Linked DNA regions of Homo sapiens: regions 1, 3, 4 and 5 are each linked to region 2. The links are contacts of gene promoters, found by promoter capture Hi-C in blood cells and fetal thymus (Javierre and others, 2016). All regions are on one chromosome and are shown on one strand. Each heading gives the region's core, a stretch centred on a gene start or on the middle of the fragment in contact. The rest is flanking DNA. Distances are from core to core; before and after follow the strand shown.

What was found. Contacts are between HindIII fragments. The CHiCAGO score rates a contact against its expected background, and 5 or more counts as called.
Region 1: a fragment that was not itself captured here is called in contact with the fragment with the promoter of ANKRD46 in region 2 in 1 of 17 cell types (total B cells); the score reaches 5.2 in total B cells.
Region 3: the fragment with the promoter of POP1 here is called in contact with the fragment with the promoter of ANKRD46 in region 2 in 2 of 17 cell types (monocytes and non-activated CD4 T cells); the score reaches 5.9 in monocytes.
Region 4: a contact is called between the fragment with the promoter of KLF10 here and the fragment with the promoter of ANKRD46 in region 2, in 1 of 17 cell types (non-activated CD4 T cells). The highest score is 5.4, in non-activated CD4 T cells.
Region 5: a contact is called between the fragment with the promoter of AZIN1 here and the fragment with the promoter of ANKRD46 in region 2, in 1 of 17 cell types (naive CD4 T cells). The highest score is 6.6, in naive CD4 T cells.

The regions. Positions count from the first base shown.
Region 1 is chr8:98,158,619-98,161,849 of GRCh38, reverse strand. POP1 (POP1 ribonuclease P/MRP subunit) reads right to left here. Exons shown (of 16, transcript NM_001145860.2): 16 at 2,015-3,231. Among named protein-coding and RNA genes, the nearest start is that of NIPAL2-AS1, 16 kb to the left of the region's middle. The HindIII fragment of the contact is 4,067 bases long and covers 1-3,231 here.
Region 2 is chr8:100,558,048-100,561,366 of GRCh38, reverse strand. ANKRD46 (ankyrin repeat domain 46) reads left to right here and starts at 1,608. Exons shown (of 5, transcript NM_001270377.2): 1 at 1,608-1,656. RefSeq lists enhancers at 1,305-1,444, 1,412-1,706 and a silencer at 1,445-1,614. The HindIII fragment of the contact is 4,322 bases long and covers 1-3,319 here.
Region 3 is chr8:98,115,866-98,119,268 of GRCh38, reverse strand. It overlaps POP1 (POP1 ribonuclease P/MRP subunit), which reads right to left and starts at 1,976. Exons shown (of 16, transcript NM_001145860.2): 1 at 1,879-1,976. RIDA (reactive intermediate imine deaminase A) reads left to right here and starts at 2,098. Exons shown (of 6, transcript NM_005836.3): 1 at 2,098-2,237. The coding sequence starts at 2,173. RefSeq lists enhancers at 1,704-1,873, 1,944-1,993. The HindIII fragment of the contact is 6,678 bases long and covers 352-3,403 here.
Region 4 is chr8:102,654,211-102,657,574 of GRCh38, reverse strand. KLF10 (KLF transcription factor 10) reads left to right here and starts at 1,850. Exons shown (of 4, transcript NM_005655.4): 1 at 1,850-2,009. The coding sequence starts at 1,974. LOC101927245 (a long non-coding RNA gene) reads right to left here and starts at 1,327. Exons shown (of 5, transcript NR_160672.1): 1 at 789-1,327. RefSeq lists enhancers at 1-18, 19-619, 1,220-1,820, 3,114-3,364, silencers at 961-1,980, 2,881-3,364 and a promoter at 1,260-1,994. The HindIII fragment of the contact is 6,240 bases long and covers 1-3,364 here.
Region 5 is chr8:102,862,285-102,865,789 of GRCh38, reverse strand. AZIN1 (antizyme inhibitor 1) reads left to right here and starts at 1,627. Exons shown (of 12, transcript NM_148174.4): 1 at 1,627-1,983. MAILR (macrophage interferon regulatory lncRNA) reads right to left here and starts at 1,519. Exons shown (of 3, transcript NR_126339.1): 1 at 1,167-1,519. RefSeq lists enhancers at 549-1,281, 2,750-3,483 and silencers at 1,161-1,510, 2,171-2,400. The HindIII fragment of the contact is 10,250 bases long and covers 1-3,505 here.

The DNA of each region.
Region 1 (3,231 bases), core at 67-2,566, 2.4 Mb after region 2:
GTGTACCTGTAATCCCAGCTACTCGGGAGGCTGAGGCAGAAGAATCGCATGAACCCGGGAGGCAGAGGTTGCAGTGAGCCAAGATCGTGACACTGCACTCCAGACTGGGCAGACAGAGTAAGACTGTAGGAGAGAAGAGGAGAGAAGAAGAGAGGAGGGGAGAGGAGGGGAGAGGAGGGGAGAGGAGGGGAGAGGAGGGGAGAGGAGGGGAGAGGAGGGGAAAGGAGGGGAGAGGAGGGGAGGGGAGGGGAGGAGAGGGGAAGGGGAGGAAAGGAAAGGAGAGGGGAAGGGGAGGGGAAGGGAAGGGTGCCAAGACTGGAAGCTGCTGTTGCCAAAGAAAAGGCAGTGCCTGTATTCCTCTGTGTCCTCAGGAGGCCTATAATAACCAGAACCGCTGTGAAACTGGGGTTGATGCTTGAGTGGCCCACAGTTGCTACAGGCTATGTATTCTCTGCTAAACAGCTCAATCCTGGACCTATCTCTGTGCTCCCCAGGCCTCAGATCGGCTGGCTACGAGTAGGCCAGTTAAGACTATGAGGGAGTCCATATAGCTTGTCAACCGCCCCCCTCACCTCCCACTGGTTGGGAAGAAAGAACTCACGCAAGGCATGTGGCCGCCAAGACGGCAATGCTACACTTAGTACATGATGGGTGGTTACATACTAACTTCCCATTTAAAAAAAAAAAAAAAAAAAAGGAGTATTATCCTTAAAGCTCTTGCCAGTCAAGCACCAACAAAAAAACTGGTAACATGCACTCTGCTGCACTTGCATGGTATAGCTCTTTATATAAGCAACGGCTTATGTTATTAAAAGAAAACTACCCACATACATCTTAACGTCTAGGATACATAACAGAAGGTAACTAGTTATATTGCATGGTGAAAATCCAGGTGATTTAAATTTTGTTATTGTTGCTCATCTTCATTTTCTAATTGTTTTATGATGAATATGGATGACTGATATGAACAATATTACTAGAGCATAAACACCAAAAGGAATCCATTGTTTCTTACAGAACTCAAGTGCATAGCTGGTCTGTAAGTGTTCAGCTCACAACTCTGCCTTTTCTTTTCTTTTTTTTTTTTTGGAATGGAGTTTTGCTCTTGTTACCCAGGCTGGAGTGCAATGGTGCGATCTCGGCTCATTGCAACCTCCGCCTCCCGGGTTCAAGCAATTCTCCTGCCTCAGCCTCTCAAGCAGCTGGGATGGCAGGCATGCGCCACCATGCCTGGCTAATTTTGTATTTTTGGTAGAGACAGGGTTTCACCATGTTGGTCAGGATGCTTCAAGAACCCTAAAAGCATTGCTCCCTCAACAAGAGGACAAGGGCCACATTGCACTTATTTGGTAGCTATGTAGCTCTAGTACAGCATGGCAGGCACTTGGAAGGATCAAGATCAACACGCTAATCAATTCAACTGCCAGAAAGTAAGCCATTCCCCTATCAGTCTTTTTCATAAGGAACATGGATTCTTTACTGCCTCTGCAGAGTCTGTTAGTTTTTCAACGTATCTTCTGTGAAACTAGTGTTCTCTGGACAATAGGTATGCAAAAACCAAAAAAGGTACGTGTGTGGGAGTCTGAAAGACAGATTTCTTTCCTAAAGAGCTTTGCAGAGCTTTGACTCTGCAAGTATTCATTGTGAATCATAATAGGAGGATACCATATATAGCTTTTCCCATATTTATTTAGCCATAAAATACTTTTCTCCAGGAACAGCTGCAGGGACTAGTACTCCCAGGAATACATTTTGGGAAATGCTAATCTATCTTTCTGGTGCGCAGCTCTTTGACCTACCACCCACCAGGCAGAGTGGCTGCAAACGTGCCCTGTCCCCTATAATGAGGGCGGGGCAGCAGGCCCTAGGCAGGGCTGTACAGAATGAGGTTAGGTGACCACGCAGCACACTCAGACTTCTGTCATCGAGTGAGCTCAGCCACAAATGAGGTGACTGAGAGCCCAGAAAACAAATAAGGAATGGTCCAATAAATATAAATATTCACAACTGAACATCAGGTGACATTTTCATTTATTCTGTTTACAGATGCCACTTAGTTACACTGTTTTTTTTTTTTCAGTCTCATCTGGGTTGGATCCAAAGACATTCAGAGGCATGGTAAGAGGCAAAGCATCAGACATCTCATTGGTGGCAGGTACTTCCTGACTACTGTACCACCTGCTGTATCCTTCCCCACCTCATCACCCCCAAAGCCATTTAGTGCCAAATGCTACAGTAAAAACCCAATGCATTTACATAAAATAATGCCTAACTGCATATTTACATTTTTTAGAAAAAAAATCCCATTAAGCTCTTCTAGAAAGTTATGGCAGGAAAGGTAAGGACCAAGGCTATGAGCAAGCCATATGTGGAAACTTAAAGTAGATGAGCACTGAGTTTCTCCATAGTTGGAAAAAAGCCACACTGAGCCCACTCTTCCTGTGAGGCAAGATGAGACCTTCCTTTTATACCCTGTTGAGAATCTCAGGTGGACAACGTGACTGCATGAGTGTTGAAAGGCAGCTTGCCGGCTTAGTTATCACCTTGCAGAGGTAGCTATGCACTACACAGCCACACTGCCCAAAGCGCGCTACTAAGAACACTGGTCCTACAAAGGGCTCCTTGTAAGAGAACTTTAGGAATCACAAGTATTTAGAAAATACTATACACTATCATTTCCTTCCTAGAGATCCGCAATGCACATTATCACATGGAAGTTTCCAGAAGTTCTTTCATAAAGAAATGCTTAACTTTATTTAACCTAGAGTTTCCATATCAACCTGACCTTGGAATCTCTTACTTTTTTAGGTGACACATATCATAGAACATATTCTGAGAAATGCTCCTCTATGGCTTTGAGAAAATCTTTGCAGAAACAAAATAATAATAATTTTTTACTTAAAAAAATTAAGTAACTAGTAGGATCAAGTGTTGGTCAACAACAAAGAGATCAAAGAGTCAGGAAGTCCACGTCATAGACCCCCACTTTCTAATTCCAGCCTAGCACTGACGCCATAAACTGTGCCTGCCTGAAAACAGGCAGAAATCAGTTGTCCATGATTTCTCTCTTTAAGGCTTGAGTTGTTCGGCATGGAAATCACAGTACAGAATTGAATGAGGTCCATCAGGAGCCCATATTTCATGTACAGAGGCCAAGCGTCTTCTCTTGTCTTCTGCTATAACAGTGAAATCATTAAACATCTATTGTTGCTTATCACATGACTATGAGGT
Region 2 (3,319 bases), core at 359-2,858:
GGAGGACATCAATAACAAACTGATTAATAAATGTCATCAATTTAACAAGTAATATTGCTGATTAGTCATAGCACAATAAAATGTGAAATGCCCTAAGATCTTATAACTTTTTTTTTTTTGAGATGGAGTCTTGTTCTGTCACCCAGGCTGGAGTGCAGTGGTGAGATCTCGGCTCATTGTGACCTCCGCCTTTTGGGGTTCAAGGATTCTTGTGCCTCAGCCTCCTGAGTAGCTGGGATTACAGGTGTGCAACACCGTGCCTGGCTAATTTTTGTATTTTTGTAGAGCCAAGGTTTCACCATGTTGGTCCGGCTGGTCTCGAACTCCTGACCTCAAGTGATCTGTCCACCCCAGCATCCCAAAGTGCTGGGATTACAGGTGTGAGCCACCGTGCATGGCCAGATCTTATAATTCTTACATGAAAGAAATGTAATAGTGATTTCCTCTAATATGACAATAGTCCTAAACCTTTACATGACACTTTCAAGAACAAATTATTAGATGGTGTAGGTGGTCCTTGAATGAATGAACCATGAGATACCCTAGAGCAGGGGTGTCCAATCTTTTGGCTTCCCTGGGCCACATTGGAAGAAGAATTGTCTTGGGCCACACATAAAATACACTAACACCAGCAATTGTTGATGAGCTAAAAAAAAATTGCAAAAAAAAAAAAACTCATAATGTTTTAAGAGAGTTTATTAATTTGTGTTGGGCTGCATTCTAAACTGTCTTGGCTGCATGCAGCCTGCAGGTGTGGGCCAGGGGTTGGACAAGTTTGCCATAGAGCGTGGCTTGGTTGGATGAGGGTGCTAGAATTCAGAGGACGGTCACTGTGCAGTGAGAGTTGTCTTGGCTGTAGGACTGGAGTTGGTAAAATGAAAAAAAGAAAAAACTAGTTTTGCATGAAAGAATGTTTCCAGCATATGAATGTCCCACCACACTTTTAGTTAGTCTTGGCTGTACATGTTGCAATAAGTCAAGGAACCCTACAAAGTAGGATGGAAGGATTCAAACTGCGAATCGCTTGAACCCGGAAGGCGGAGTTGGAGTTTGCAGTGAGCCGAGGTTGAGCAACTGCACTCCAGCCTGGGCGACAGAGTGAGACTCCGTCTAAAAAAAAAAAAAAAAAAAAAGATTCAAACTGCTTTTGAAAAAAGTAAAAATGCAGGGTTATATTTTAGAAATAGTGCAGCCAATCATTAGTGGCTATTCCTAATATGTCAATTTCGGGTCTATAGAAGACCTACCTAGAGGCCAGCAACTATTAATTGATGCTTATAGCACCTAATGAAACTGCCCTTGCCTTTGAAGCCCCCATTTAGCTAAGGGGATGGGATGTGAATTTAGAATAGGACGTGAAAAGTGCAAAATGCTCCCGGACTCAGATCGGATAAACCTCTTCTAGGCTGTCTTTCTCTTCTGAAGCCACAGTTTTGATGCTTTCCCTAATTCAGAGCAGGCTTTCCCGGAGTCTCTGACTCAGAGCAGCCCGAGCCACCGTGAGGACCGCCCACCTGCAGGGGGCGCGCCGGGGGCTGCAGCGCGAGACCGCTCTGGCCCAGCGGGGACTCCGACTACCCCTGTCTGGCCCCTCCCCTCCGCCCGTCACCGCCTCCTTGAAGCTGCCGCTGTCGCTGCTGCTCGTTCGAGTCGCAGGTACTTGGCCCGGGGCCTGTGGGCAGCGCCTGGGCTAGAGCCACTTGATATCTCCTGCACCGTCCCTGTAGCACTGGAGGTCCAGTAGGCCTGGCCGGGGCCCTGAGGGGCGAGGGTGCCCGGGCTTCCCACACCTTCCGCGGCGACTGGAGGGAGCCGGGCCGAGGAAGCGACCGCGGGTCCGTGATGGCTTCTTCGCGGTCTGTGTGTTCACGAGGGCCGGGCAGAGGCCTGCGAGGGTTCTCGTTTGCGCTTGCGGGTTAGGGCTGTGGTCCGGGGAACCCCTGGGCAGCGCGGGCAGCCCTGGCTCGCGGTTAATCGGGGGGTGGAGCGCGGAAGCCACGCCGCAGGTCCAGCTGCTCGGCCGGGGCGAGACGGTGCTTTCGCGGCGTGTGCTTGCAGGAGCGCACAGTTCAGGCGCCGGGACAAGCTGTTGGGGTGTGAGTGAGCTCTCCAGAATGGCACATGGCTCCGGGGTGCCCGGGTTAAAAGGAAGGATTTGCACACCTTCCACTTAGGGCTCGGGTAATCGCAAACTTCCTCCCTTAATTGGCTTGCAGTGCTAAAAAGCAGATCGTTCTCTCTGAGGTTTTCCCAACAGTACCTCAAGAAAATAACATCTGTTTTTTGTAACGTTCCACGGTATTCGGAATTGGCTACAGAACATAATAAGGTAAAAATATGCCATTGAATAGTAGCGCTTCTCAATCTTTAAAAAATGACGGTGGTACCTAGGAGCCTCTTAAAGAGCTGTAATATGAGTGGTGTGGGGATTATTTTTATGTTCTAGTAATAGCTATTTTCAGTGCTTATTTTATGTCAGACACGGTGCCATTGCTTTAAATACCTGGTACCTTTAATCCTTGAAGCAACCCTATCAGGTACCATTTCCATTATACAGATAAGGAAACTGAGGCACCGAGAGTCTGACTTCTCCAAGGTCAGAAAGCTAGCAAAGGCTGAGCGAGATTTGGTCTCATCTCCCTTACTTCAGTATCCCTGCGTCTGTTATCTAGCCAAACATGTAGCGCTGTCTAAGAGTTTTATCAATTAGATTTGTAGCCTGAACTGATTTCTCTCAGGCTTAGTTTTCATGGTTATATGCAGGAGTCCTACATGAACTCCTTTTTAGTTTAAAAGGAGTTTAGTAAGAAAACTGTTAGCTCATTAAGGACTATAGTGATAATAAAGTTAAACTTGGACTGGGGTTCTCACTGTGCCAGTACAATTTGATTTGAAATAGAGATGAATTTGTTTGGTTGTTAACACACTTTATTACATTTCTTCATTATTTATGTTTCCATACCATTTTTTAGTGAGTTCACTTTGCCTTTGCATTATTATGGTAGCAGTACCAGAGGGAAATCAAAGATTTTTTGATGATAGTAAGTTAATATTTTACAGAATACAGGAAAGGCACTGGAGAGAGGATGTGAAGTGATAAGGAATTTTTGGCATGTTATATAAATTGTGTTACTATGGAAAACAAAGGATTCTCACAGTTCTTTATCAAAAGGGAAATTGTATTTCCCATTGTGGAAATAAGTTGGGCTTTATAGTCCCAAACTTCTTAGCCTTACCTATTATAGATTTAAGAATTTGCATATTCGGCATTCATATAGCAAGCGTATATTGAGTGCCTTCTATGGCCAGGCTCTGTTCT
Region 3 (3,403 bases), core at 727-3,226, 2.4 Mb after region 2:
TTTACACAAGTTGAATCATTTGTAATGCTCCAAAATAGCTTCTTATTTAAAAACTTAAATGGTGAATTATTTTGTAAATAAAAATATGTCTTAATTATCTAGTTTAATCAGATTTAATAAACTTTTGGGCACCTACTATGTGCCCAATAGTTTCAGGCTGTGTATAATTCCAAAGTAGAATAAGAATTTTGTCATCTTAGGCAGCATTGAGAACTTGATGTGGCAGGCACTATTCTACATGACTTATTCATTTAATTCTCACAACTCTGTGGTCACTAGTATTATTCTCATCTTATAAATGAAGAAATCGAAGCACAGAGATTTTATATACCAGTCCAAGGCTACTAAGCTTGTGATTGTGCTGAGATTCAAACCAGGCAGTCTGACTCTATCCACTATTCTTTTTTTTTTTTCCACCCCTTCCCTCTCCAATCCACTATTCTTGAAACACATAACAATTAGAAAATAGGATCTCATATAATAAAATACTAAATTATGCGGTACAGCACAATAGGAAACAGGACAAGGGAAAGAAAAAAAATGAGGCCGGGCATAATGGTTACACCTGTAATCCCTGCACTTTGGGAGGCTGAGGTGGGAGAATTGCTTGAGCCCAAGAGTTGGAGACCAGCCTGGCCAATATGAAGAAGCCCCGTCTCCACAGAAAATACAAAAATTAGCCGGGCGTGCTGGTGTGCACTTGTAATCCCAACTACTTGAGATGCTCAGGCTGGAGGATTGCTTCAGCCCAGGAGGTCAAGGTTTCAGTGAGCCAAGATCATGCCACTGTACTCCAGCCAGGGTGACAGAGTGAGATCCTGTCTTGAAAGAAAGAAAACAAAGAAAAAGAAAAGGAAAGGAAGGAAAGAAGAAAAAGAAAAAAATGTGAATTGGTAGGAAAAGTCAAAGAGAAAATAGAATTTCAGTTAGCTGGAATTTGCACAGATAAGGAAGAAAGAGTATTCAGGAATCCACAGTGTGAATACAGGAGGACTCTAGTGGGAAAAGGGAGTAGATGACAATGAAACTTGAATAGGCAAGGGGAGGCCAGACTGAAAGGTCTTTTATTCCAGGCCCCAAACCAATGAAAAAGATCAGAAGGTTCCTGAGCCGGAAGTAGGAAGGCCAAAACCTTAGCAGTATGTAGGACAAAATGAGAGGGAATAAAGCAGATTTTCTTGTATTATCTTTAGGAAGCAGGGAAGGCAGAGATTTTATTATTATTTTTTTTAACTGTTGCATTCCTCCTAGCATCTAGCAGAGTGCCTTACACAAAGTAGGGACTCATATATCTATGAGTGCCCGCATAAATGAAGAAACGAAGCGTACTTACAATGCAAATATTAACAGGATAAGAAATATTTAGCCAAGTACCACCCCTTCTGACACAGCAGAATACTTACAAGGGATCTGGGCCATTCCAGATCACCATCTTTCTTTCTGAAATGATATCCCAATCACTAGGGCTCTGTTCAGACAGTGACCTTGTAAAGCCCGAGGAGCACCCTAGAGAAGGGAACACAGGAGGAGCAGGAAAGGGAACACGGGAGGACCAACGCCCAGATCTCAGCGTGGTCGCCAGAATGACCCATATTAGTCATTTGGGGTTGCAGAAGAGGGGATGCAAGCCCATTCCCAGGACGGCCTCCACCCGGCGGGGCAATGAAGGGAAATGACTGACGTAGGGGGCTCCAGCGCAGGGGCCGAAGGAGATGCGACACCAGGGAGAGGGGCCCCGGGCACAGGCAGCAAGGAAAGAGGTCAGCGGAGTCTGAGAGAGAAACGATGAAGAGGGGAGACGGGCGCCGGGAGGGGGGCCGCCGCATACAGTTCCCCCGACACTCGCATCCTGGAAGGCACCAGCCCCTCACGACCAACCTGCCAGACGCTGTGAGGAATCCCCGGGTCAGAATGACAAGCCTCCGCGACAGTACCCACCGAGCCAAAGCTCCTGGAGAGCGCGCTGGAGAGCGCATGCGCCAGACCGGGCGCTTCCTCCACGTGGCCTGGAGCGTCGCCGAAACTACAGTTCCCAGAATGCCGCACGAGCCCGCCCCCAGCGGGAGCTGTGGGGCAGAGGCGCTGCTGTGGTTGGTCAGTCCAGTAAGAAGCCAGCAGGGCTGGTGCTGGGGCTTCTTCTCCTGAAGGGGCTGCAAGAGGGAAGGCTTAGCCATGTCGTCCTTGATCAGAAGGGTGATCAGCACCGCGAAAGCCCCAGGGGCCATTGGACCCTACAGGTAACGTGGCTGGTGGAAGCTGTGTCGGACCCAGGGCGTGCGGGTTCGGGGATTCGGGGTTGGGGCCACTCCGGGCCGGAGCCCCAGCTAACACGCAAGGAAATTGAGCCTGGAAAGTAAGCAACGCGCCCGAAGACCCACAGAGAGTTGGGAGCCACGATGGGACCAGGAACCTGCACTCCATGGGACTTTGCTCGTTCTGGGGCTGCCTCGCTGCGGAGCACAGCCTGCCAGAAAGCTCTCCCCAGTTAGAAGCCTTCAGACCCTGTGTTTTGTTTTGGGGGAGGGGGTCGTTTTTGTTTTCTTGGTAACAGCTTTATTGAGATATAATTCACGTACCGTAAGATTCACCCCCTTTAACATGTACAATTCAGTGGTTTTGACCATACTCACAGAGTTGTGCAGCCATCACCACTTTCTTCAGAACATTTTCATCACCCCAAAAATAAATCCCATCCCCATTAGCATTCACTCCCCATTCTCCTCTCCCCCGGCCCCTGACAATCTACTTGCATCTTCATGGATTTGCTTGTTGTGGACATTTCCTATAAATTGAATCATAAAACATGCAGTCCTTTATGACCAACTTCTTTCATTAGCTTCATACTTGGTCTGCCTCTCTCCCAACTGAAAAGAGCCCCATCAACAGCTCCCTCCTTTAAACCTACTGCTGTGAGAAAAGGCACTGAGATGTGGCAGAACAGGAATTATTATAGAAAACTTGGAAATAAATAAAATGCAGTAGAAGTGAGAGGGCAAGTGGGGTAGGGAGTAAAGGAGAAAAAAGACAAATTGATTTTAACTTGGGGTGGAAGAGGAAAAAGAAGATTTAGGAAGGTTCCTTGTGAGAGGTAGTCCTTTGGTTTTGAAGGTTGGTTTTGTCATTTATAGTAGTGTTGTAAAGTTTGATTTTTAAATTAATTTATTAAGGATTTCAACAGGAAGTCATTGAGTGAAGGGCATGGAGGTAGAAGTCAGGTAGAGGGAATGGCTTGAGTGAGGGCATGGAGGTAGAAGAATGCATGGTATAAAGATTTTGGGGAGAAAGTTTTCATAATTCAAGTGCTACTTCTGTCTTTTTTGTTTGTTTGTTTGCCAAATCTGTATATCACTTATAATTTACTTAACCTATTTCTTTGAGATGGCTCACTTCATTTTATTTAACA
Region 4 (3,364 bases), core at 601-3,100, 2.1 Mb before region 2:
CGGAGGGGCATACAGGAGCTTCCTCTCCCGCCACAGTGTCCAGGGCCAACTGCTCCAGCCCTCAGGCTGGGTCAACAGGATGGGACAGCCCAGGCGGAAGGAAACCTGTGGGGAGGGACACCCCGCAGACAGAAGCAGGGACATGGGGTGGGGAGAGGCAGGAAGAGCTGCCGGGCTGCTGAGCTGGCGCCTCTCCAGCAGACTCAGGAGGGGCGGTGACAGGAGGCCATTCCCTCCTCATCCCCGCAGCCCTGGGCCTCTCTGGTCCTGGCCAACAGTATTACTATCATTATTATTGCTGTTGTTCGCTAGCCTGGGCCTTAGATACATTAGAAAAAAACCATCGGAAGATACGCATAGCATTGGCAGTTTCTAAAAGAATTAATTCCCTTCCTGTGTTCATTCTGTGATTACTGGGATAGAAATGCTATTTGCATTACCAGCCTTTCATTCAGTTACAGAGACGTGAGTGCTCGAAGGAGAGACAGTGATTTTTGCCTTAAATTCAGCCTGTCCAAATCGGATAAGATCTCCGATTTGCTTTAAGCCCCGTTATCACTGCCTTCCTCTCCAACAACAGCTGCTGTGATCACGCACAAACGGCCAAACGGGGGCAAATCCGTGCCAAAGCAGGGCCATGGGCTTTCCTGATCAGAAGGCCTAGCCCCAGCCCCCAGGCGCAGCACACGGGCGGCTTCCTTTCAGAAACCCAGCCTGCCTCCCACCAGCTGGAGTGGGTGGGTGGGGCGGTAGTGGTGCCAGTTTCAGGGAACGGCCGGCAAACCCACCTCCAGGCGTGCTCCAGCGGGAGCCTGGAGACCCTAGGAGAGCCCTCCCCACAAGCGGCTTCCAGGCAGGACGCTTCCAGAGGTCTTGGTCCAGGGGTGGGGGTGAGGTGGGGTCTACCTTTGAAACAGCTACAATTTAAACTTCAGCTACACCGAGCTCAAACTCGATTCCGCAGCCGAGTGTCGGCGCCAGAGAAGGATAAAAACTCGGGTCTACGGCTCCCCACCACGCCCCTGGTCCGGTCCTCTGGGCTTCCAGGAGTCCTCACGCCATCCTCTGGGTTGCCCAGGAGGAAGGATGGGCGGGGCGGGCAGGCGCTGCGGGCGCTGCAGATGGGGAGGGCGAGCCCGCGGCACGGCGTGAGCGGGGGAGAGGCGCGCGAGCAGGTGTCGGCTCCGTGACAGGGTCCCCCATCCCGCGCCCCAGTGCTCCCCGAGGCTTAGTGAGGCAAAACCCAGCAAATGCTTCAGAAATGCAGCTCAGTCGGTCACCGGGTTCTGCTTCCTCATCAGACGCGCAAGAGGATGGCGCTTCCAATGCAAATCTCTTGGCTCCGGCCCCTTGGCTGGCAGCCGCCGCGTCCCCCGCCTGCCTGGCGTCCCGCCCACTCCGTGGCGGGCTGAGACGAGGCCCGGCGCGGAGGGGACGGGGCGGAGCGGGCATCCCTCCCCACCCCCCACGTGGGGCTGGCCCTCCGCAGTGCCTGGGCGCGCTGCAGTCGCCGCGCCTCCCCGGCCGCGGCACCGCCTCTCTAGGCAGGGGCGGGGGACGAGGGGCAAGGAGTGGGCGAGGGGTGGGCGAGGGGCGGGGGGCGTCACTCAATCAGGTGGCCTCTGGAGTTCCCCGGGGCAGGGCAGAGGGAACACGCTGCCGGGGATTGTGTACACGCTCCACTGACACCAGCTTCACGCTGCCGGGCAGTCGCCGATCACGCGTGGCCCCGCGAGCCCATTGGCCGGCGCCTCACACACCTTTGCCGTTGATTGGCCGGCCTCAGGCTCCGCCCCCACCCCCGCCCGCGGCGCGGGGCAGGCTGAGCGGCTACCTGAATGGGGAGGGGGCAGACGGCGCTGAGCGCGGCGGCGGCGGGAGCGGCGTCGAGTGTCTCCGTGCGCCCGTCTGTGGCCAAGCAGCCAGCAGCCTAGCAGCCAGTCAGCTTGCCGCCGGCGGCCAAGCAGCCAACCATGCTCAACTTCGGTGCCTCTCTCCAGCAGACTGCGGTAAGTCATTTGGGGATGCCCCTGTGCTTCCTCGCCTGGTCTTGTCTGGGGGGCCAAAGGGGGCGCGAACCCCGAGCCCCGGACATCAGCCATGCCTGAGAATTGGGGCTGCAGCGGAGTCGTGGGGAAGGAAAGGGCTTCCTGCCTGCAGACTATGGGCATTAGTGAGGGCGTGTGTGTTCGGGAGGGGGTCGAACCAGGGGGCTGGGATCTTCAGACAGGGACAGGGGTCTTGCTCTAGATGTACTGAGGGGAAGGGACAACTCCGCATGGAGACCCGAGAGGGCTGGTGAGGAGGAGGATGACGAGCGGGGGAGGAGTGGGGAGGGGGCCGTTGCCCTGCAGCGAGGTTGGGGTACAGTGTGGAACGAGAGTCGCGGGAGGGACAAGGGGGCTACCCTCACCTGGTACCGAGGAGAGATGCCCGGTCTGGCTCAGGAACGCGAGCCAGGGGAGGAAGGGGCTGCTCGCAAGCACTCGGGAGGCGGGGTGTCCACAGGAGAGGCGAGTGGGCTACCCATCCTGGGGGTCTGAACCCACGCTTGGAAGACGGGGGCTGCTCAGCAGATAGCTCGGGGCTGGGGGAAGGGGCGCCTGTCGTCGGAGCGGGGGGATGACACGAGGGCCCGCCGACAGCCCTGGGGGACGAGTTGCTCCCCCAGACGTCTGGAGGGGGACTCTTACCCCAGGGGCAGGTGGCCGCCTTCTGACGACTCCTTGGAAGAGGCGGGGAGCCGCCTCTGGGGCAGGAGGGTGGGAAGCGGGACCCAGCAGCTGGGGCGGGAAGGTGGGCGGGGGGAGCTGGGCCGCGAGACGCGGGGGCCGCGCGTCTGGAGCCGGGGCCTGTGGGGGCTGCACGTCTGGGAACCCGTGGAGACGCGCGGCGGGAGGGGCCTGGAGCTGCCGGAAGCCACGGGGAGGGGGCGCCGCGTCTACAGGGAGAGACGGGGTGGTCTGAGGTCCCGTGGGCCGCGTGGGCGGGAAGTGCCGAGGGCTCGGCCGGGTTCCCGGGGGCTGCCGGCGGGAGGAGGGCGGCGGCCGGGTTTCCGCGGGGACCTGGCTCCTCCTCCCGCATCTGAGGCGGAGGCCGGGGGTGGGCCGGGAGCGGGTGCGCCCGGGGAGCTTCTCGTCCCCGAGTGACCCAGCCCCGGCCTCCGCCAGGGGCGGGAGCGAGGCCCGGCCCCGCTGTCGGTTCCTAAGGGAACGGCGGCTCGCGGGGAGCTGGAAGGGGCGGGCGCCTCCCGGAGCCTGGCGCCCGCAGCCCCGCCCCTCCCCGCGGGCCCGGCGCGCACGGCCGGGCGGTTGGCGGCGGCGCCCGCGGCCCCTCCCCCGGGTCGGGCGCGGGCGGGGGCCCG
Region 5 (3,505 bases), core at 378-2,877, 2.3 Mb before region 2:
CTACTCTCAAAATCACCAAACAGGCGAGTTTGGTGAAAAAGGAAGCACCTTTGTCTAGAAAGGCTTTTCTCAAAATCACTCTTTACCTTTCCCCAGCAGCCTTTCTCTCACTTAGCTGCAATCATCTCTTCCCTCCACTTGGTCCTTGCAGCATTTTATTTGTATCAGCCAACAATTTATTTTGTATTGCTGTCTTATTTCCCCTGCTAGATTGTAAGCAAGGTTTCAAATATTGTATTCATCTCTAGTTTTTCTTCCTCCACCAGAGAGGGTCTAGTGAATGGCTGTGTTTTCAAATGTTCTGAATAGAACAGAACTTTGAAGAAATAAAAGACAGAGCCAAGATATAGCCGAGCAAAATAAGGAAAAACAAAATCAGGAATGCGTCCACAGCTCCTGATTCTACCGAATACTCTCTCATACAGCCTCGCAAGATACCCTGCTTTTCCACACAGGAAGGTCGCTTTCTTCCTTTCACATTTGATGATTTATTAATCAACCACAGTGCTGCTCAAAGTACACAGAGGGTTCGGAAGAATGAAAGGGAAAAAAGTCAGGGTCTTAATATCAAAGATCTTAACTTCAGAGGGGTGTGTCAACACATATTCCATTTGTGCTATGTGTTGCGAAGCGTAGCAGCACGAGAGAACTCGGGGTCTCTGATCATGATCATTAGTGCTGAGGCATCTAAAAAAGATGAAAATAAATTAAAAGCTATGTAGGTAATCTTAGAACCCCTAGTAAAAAAAAGTCTGTTGTGGAGTAGAAAAATTAAAACGACCGCGAAAATGAGACCTAGGGGATTGAAGTAATGTGCGCTTGTAACATCAGTAATCCCCTCTCCAACGCGGGTCCTGCTTGGGACTGACTCCACCAATCCTTTTAAAAATGAAGACATAAAAGCCATATTCCTTTAAAAAATTTCCACTGCACCGTATTGCAACGTTCGAGCACTGAGGACATTTTCACGTGGTCACAACCCTTTTTAACACCCGGACACTGGGCCGGTCCTTTCTGGCCACGAGGAACTCGCTTCCCTAAAGGAGTACCGCATCACCGAGGGCGGGCGCCTCAGCCCGGGAGGACACTCCCCAGGGTAAACTACAGGCCTCACAAAGCGGAGGGAGCTGGACGCGAAGGCTCGGCAGCGGCGCCGACAGGCTTACCCCAGGCCCACTCTAGGCCGCACAGGGTTCGCGCCACCTCCGGCCCAGGACAGCTCTCAGACGCTGCCAGCGTGGAGCTCGACCCGGCTCACAATGCGCTGGGCCCCGCAGCGTGAGCGCAGGCGCCCGAGAGGCGGCGGGGGTCGGGCGGACGGCGCGCTCCAGCCGAGCCGCCTCCCTCTCTCGGCCCACACCCGCGCGGCCGCCCTTCGCCTGCCGGGGAGCTGCGGGTGGCTGGAGGGCGGGAAGCGACCGGCCAGTCTGCACCTGCATGACCCGGTCGCGCGCCGACCCCTCCCCTCTCTCTCCCGGGCTCAGTCCTCCTTCCTCTTCCGTCCCCCTCCCTTTTCTCCGGGCTGCAACCGGGTTCCGCCCCGCTCGCGCGGCTGCCCGGCCAGCTGTGATGTCACCAGGCCACGCCCCCTAATATAAATACTGGCGTCGCTGGCGCCGCCTTCTCACACTTTCAGGCTCTGATCGCGGCCGCAGTTTTTCCTTTTTTCTTCTGCCGTCGCCTTCTCTGCCTCTTCTCATCCTTTCTCGCTCTGCTGCTCTGCAGTGTGACGAGTCCGAATCCTCTTCCCACCCAGCCCGCGCCTTTCTTCTTTTGCCTGCGCTGTTCTATTTCTCCTTCGGCCGCCGCCGCCACTGCTGCACACAGCTGGTGTCGGTGCCGCGCTTTTACCCCCAAGTCGTTCCCGCAGCCTATGGCCCAGGCCGCCTTGGGTATTTCTGCTCAAGGTAACCACATCCCTCTTTAAAAATTCCGCCGAAAAAGAGAAGACGCTTTACCCGACTCTTTGGGCCGTTATCTCACGTGAGTACCGAGCCGAGGAGCGCGGGAGGGGCCAGGACGCGGGGCTGGCCTTGGGGGGCGGCTGGGGGGCTCCGGCTGGGCCCCGCCGCCCTTAAGACGTCCCCGCAGCGCCCCGCGGCCGGCCGCCTCGAACATGGCGGCGGCGGCTGTCTGTGCCCCCGGCGGCGGCGGCGGCGGCGGGGCTGGGCGGCGGGCCGCGCCTCAGGACCTTCGGGCGGCTGCTGGACGCTTGGCGGAGCCGGAGCCGCAGCAGTTGGGGCGAGGGGGCGTGTGCCAGTGGGGGAGCGCGCGGGGGTCTCGCCGCCGGGGGTCGCCGTCCCCTCCTGGCGGCGTGCGGCCCCCACCCCTCTCCCGTGGTGCATTGCTGTTTCCGGGGAGGGGGCCCGGCCGCAGCCCTGAGGGGCCGGGGTCCCGCAGCCCCTACTCCGCGGTGCGCCGCCGCCACCTTTGCCTCCCGAAGCCCGGCGGGCGGGCGGCGCTGTGGGCTGCAACGGCTGGGGTCCTGGTTATGAATGGAGCGGGGCGGGCCCCGCGCCGGCCTCTGGTGACAGCTGCGGAGGAAGTCGGATTCCTGGGGGGCGCGGGGAGCGCGGTCCCCCTCTGGTGGAGGAAAGTTGACGCCACTTGGGGCCTGGCGGCGGGGAAGCCCCGGTGTCAGGTAGCCAGCGAGAGGCTTTTGGCCCCTTCTGGAAGCCTCGAGGCTGCTGCTCCGCCCCTGCGGCGCTCCTGATTGGGTCAAGTCGCCTTCACTCACCCCAGTCACCTCCTGGAGCCTGAGGATTAGTCACCATGGCTTCGTTTTTCCGTCCGCGCCATGGTTCCTAGGCAGAAAGAGGGAGATTGGTAGACGGGTGGCTTATCAACTACTGTCTTGACTGCCAACAGTTGGTGGTGGTAACATGTTCTAACCCTTACACGGTATCCTGAATGTGTGTTTCGTAGACAAAGCTGCTGGTTCAGAAACCCGAAACAGTCGGGGACACAGTTTACCGCCTCATGTTTCAGCACATTTAACTGAATTTTGTGGTGGCATCTTGGTTATATTAGTTCTGTGTCCCGTCGTGTTTCTATCGTGAATTCCCAGACTGGGTGGGAATCTAAGGACTCAAAGGAGGGGGAATTGCCTTGTGCTCAGCGAAGGTTGATGTAGAGGTGCATCAAAGCACAAAGTAGAAGTACATCAAAGCACATCAAATACAGCAAGGGTTGGCAGAAACATGGCTCATGATTGTCTAGAAAGGCCCTCATAATTCATTAATTTCTTTTACATATACGAGAGCGTGCAGATGCTGATCATGATTAGAAATAAGCCCCAAGGAGTTTAGGAAAGACTCCAAAAGAAAATGATTATCGGTGGTGATAAGTGAGGTCGAGTAGTCAGTGCCTTTCTCCCCCAAGGTTTTATCACATACGTTTTCAAACAGAAGGTGAAAAAGAGTTATACTTCCACCTAGATTCTGTAATTAACATTTTACCTTATTTGTCGATGCATTTCAAAGTAAAGTTGGAGACCCCTCCAACT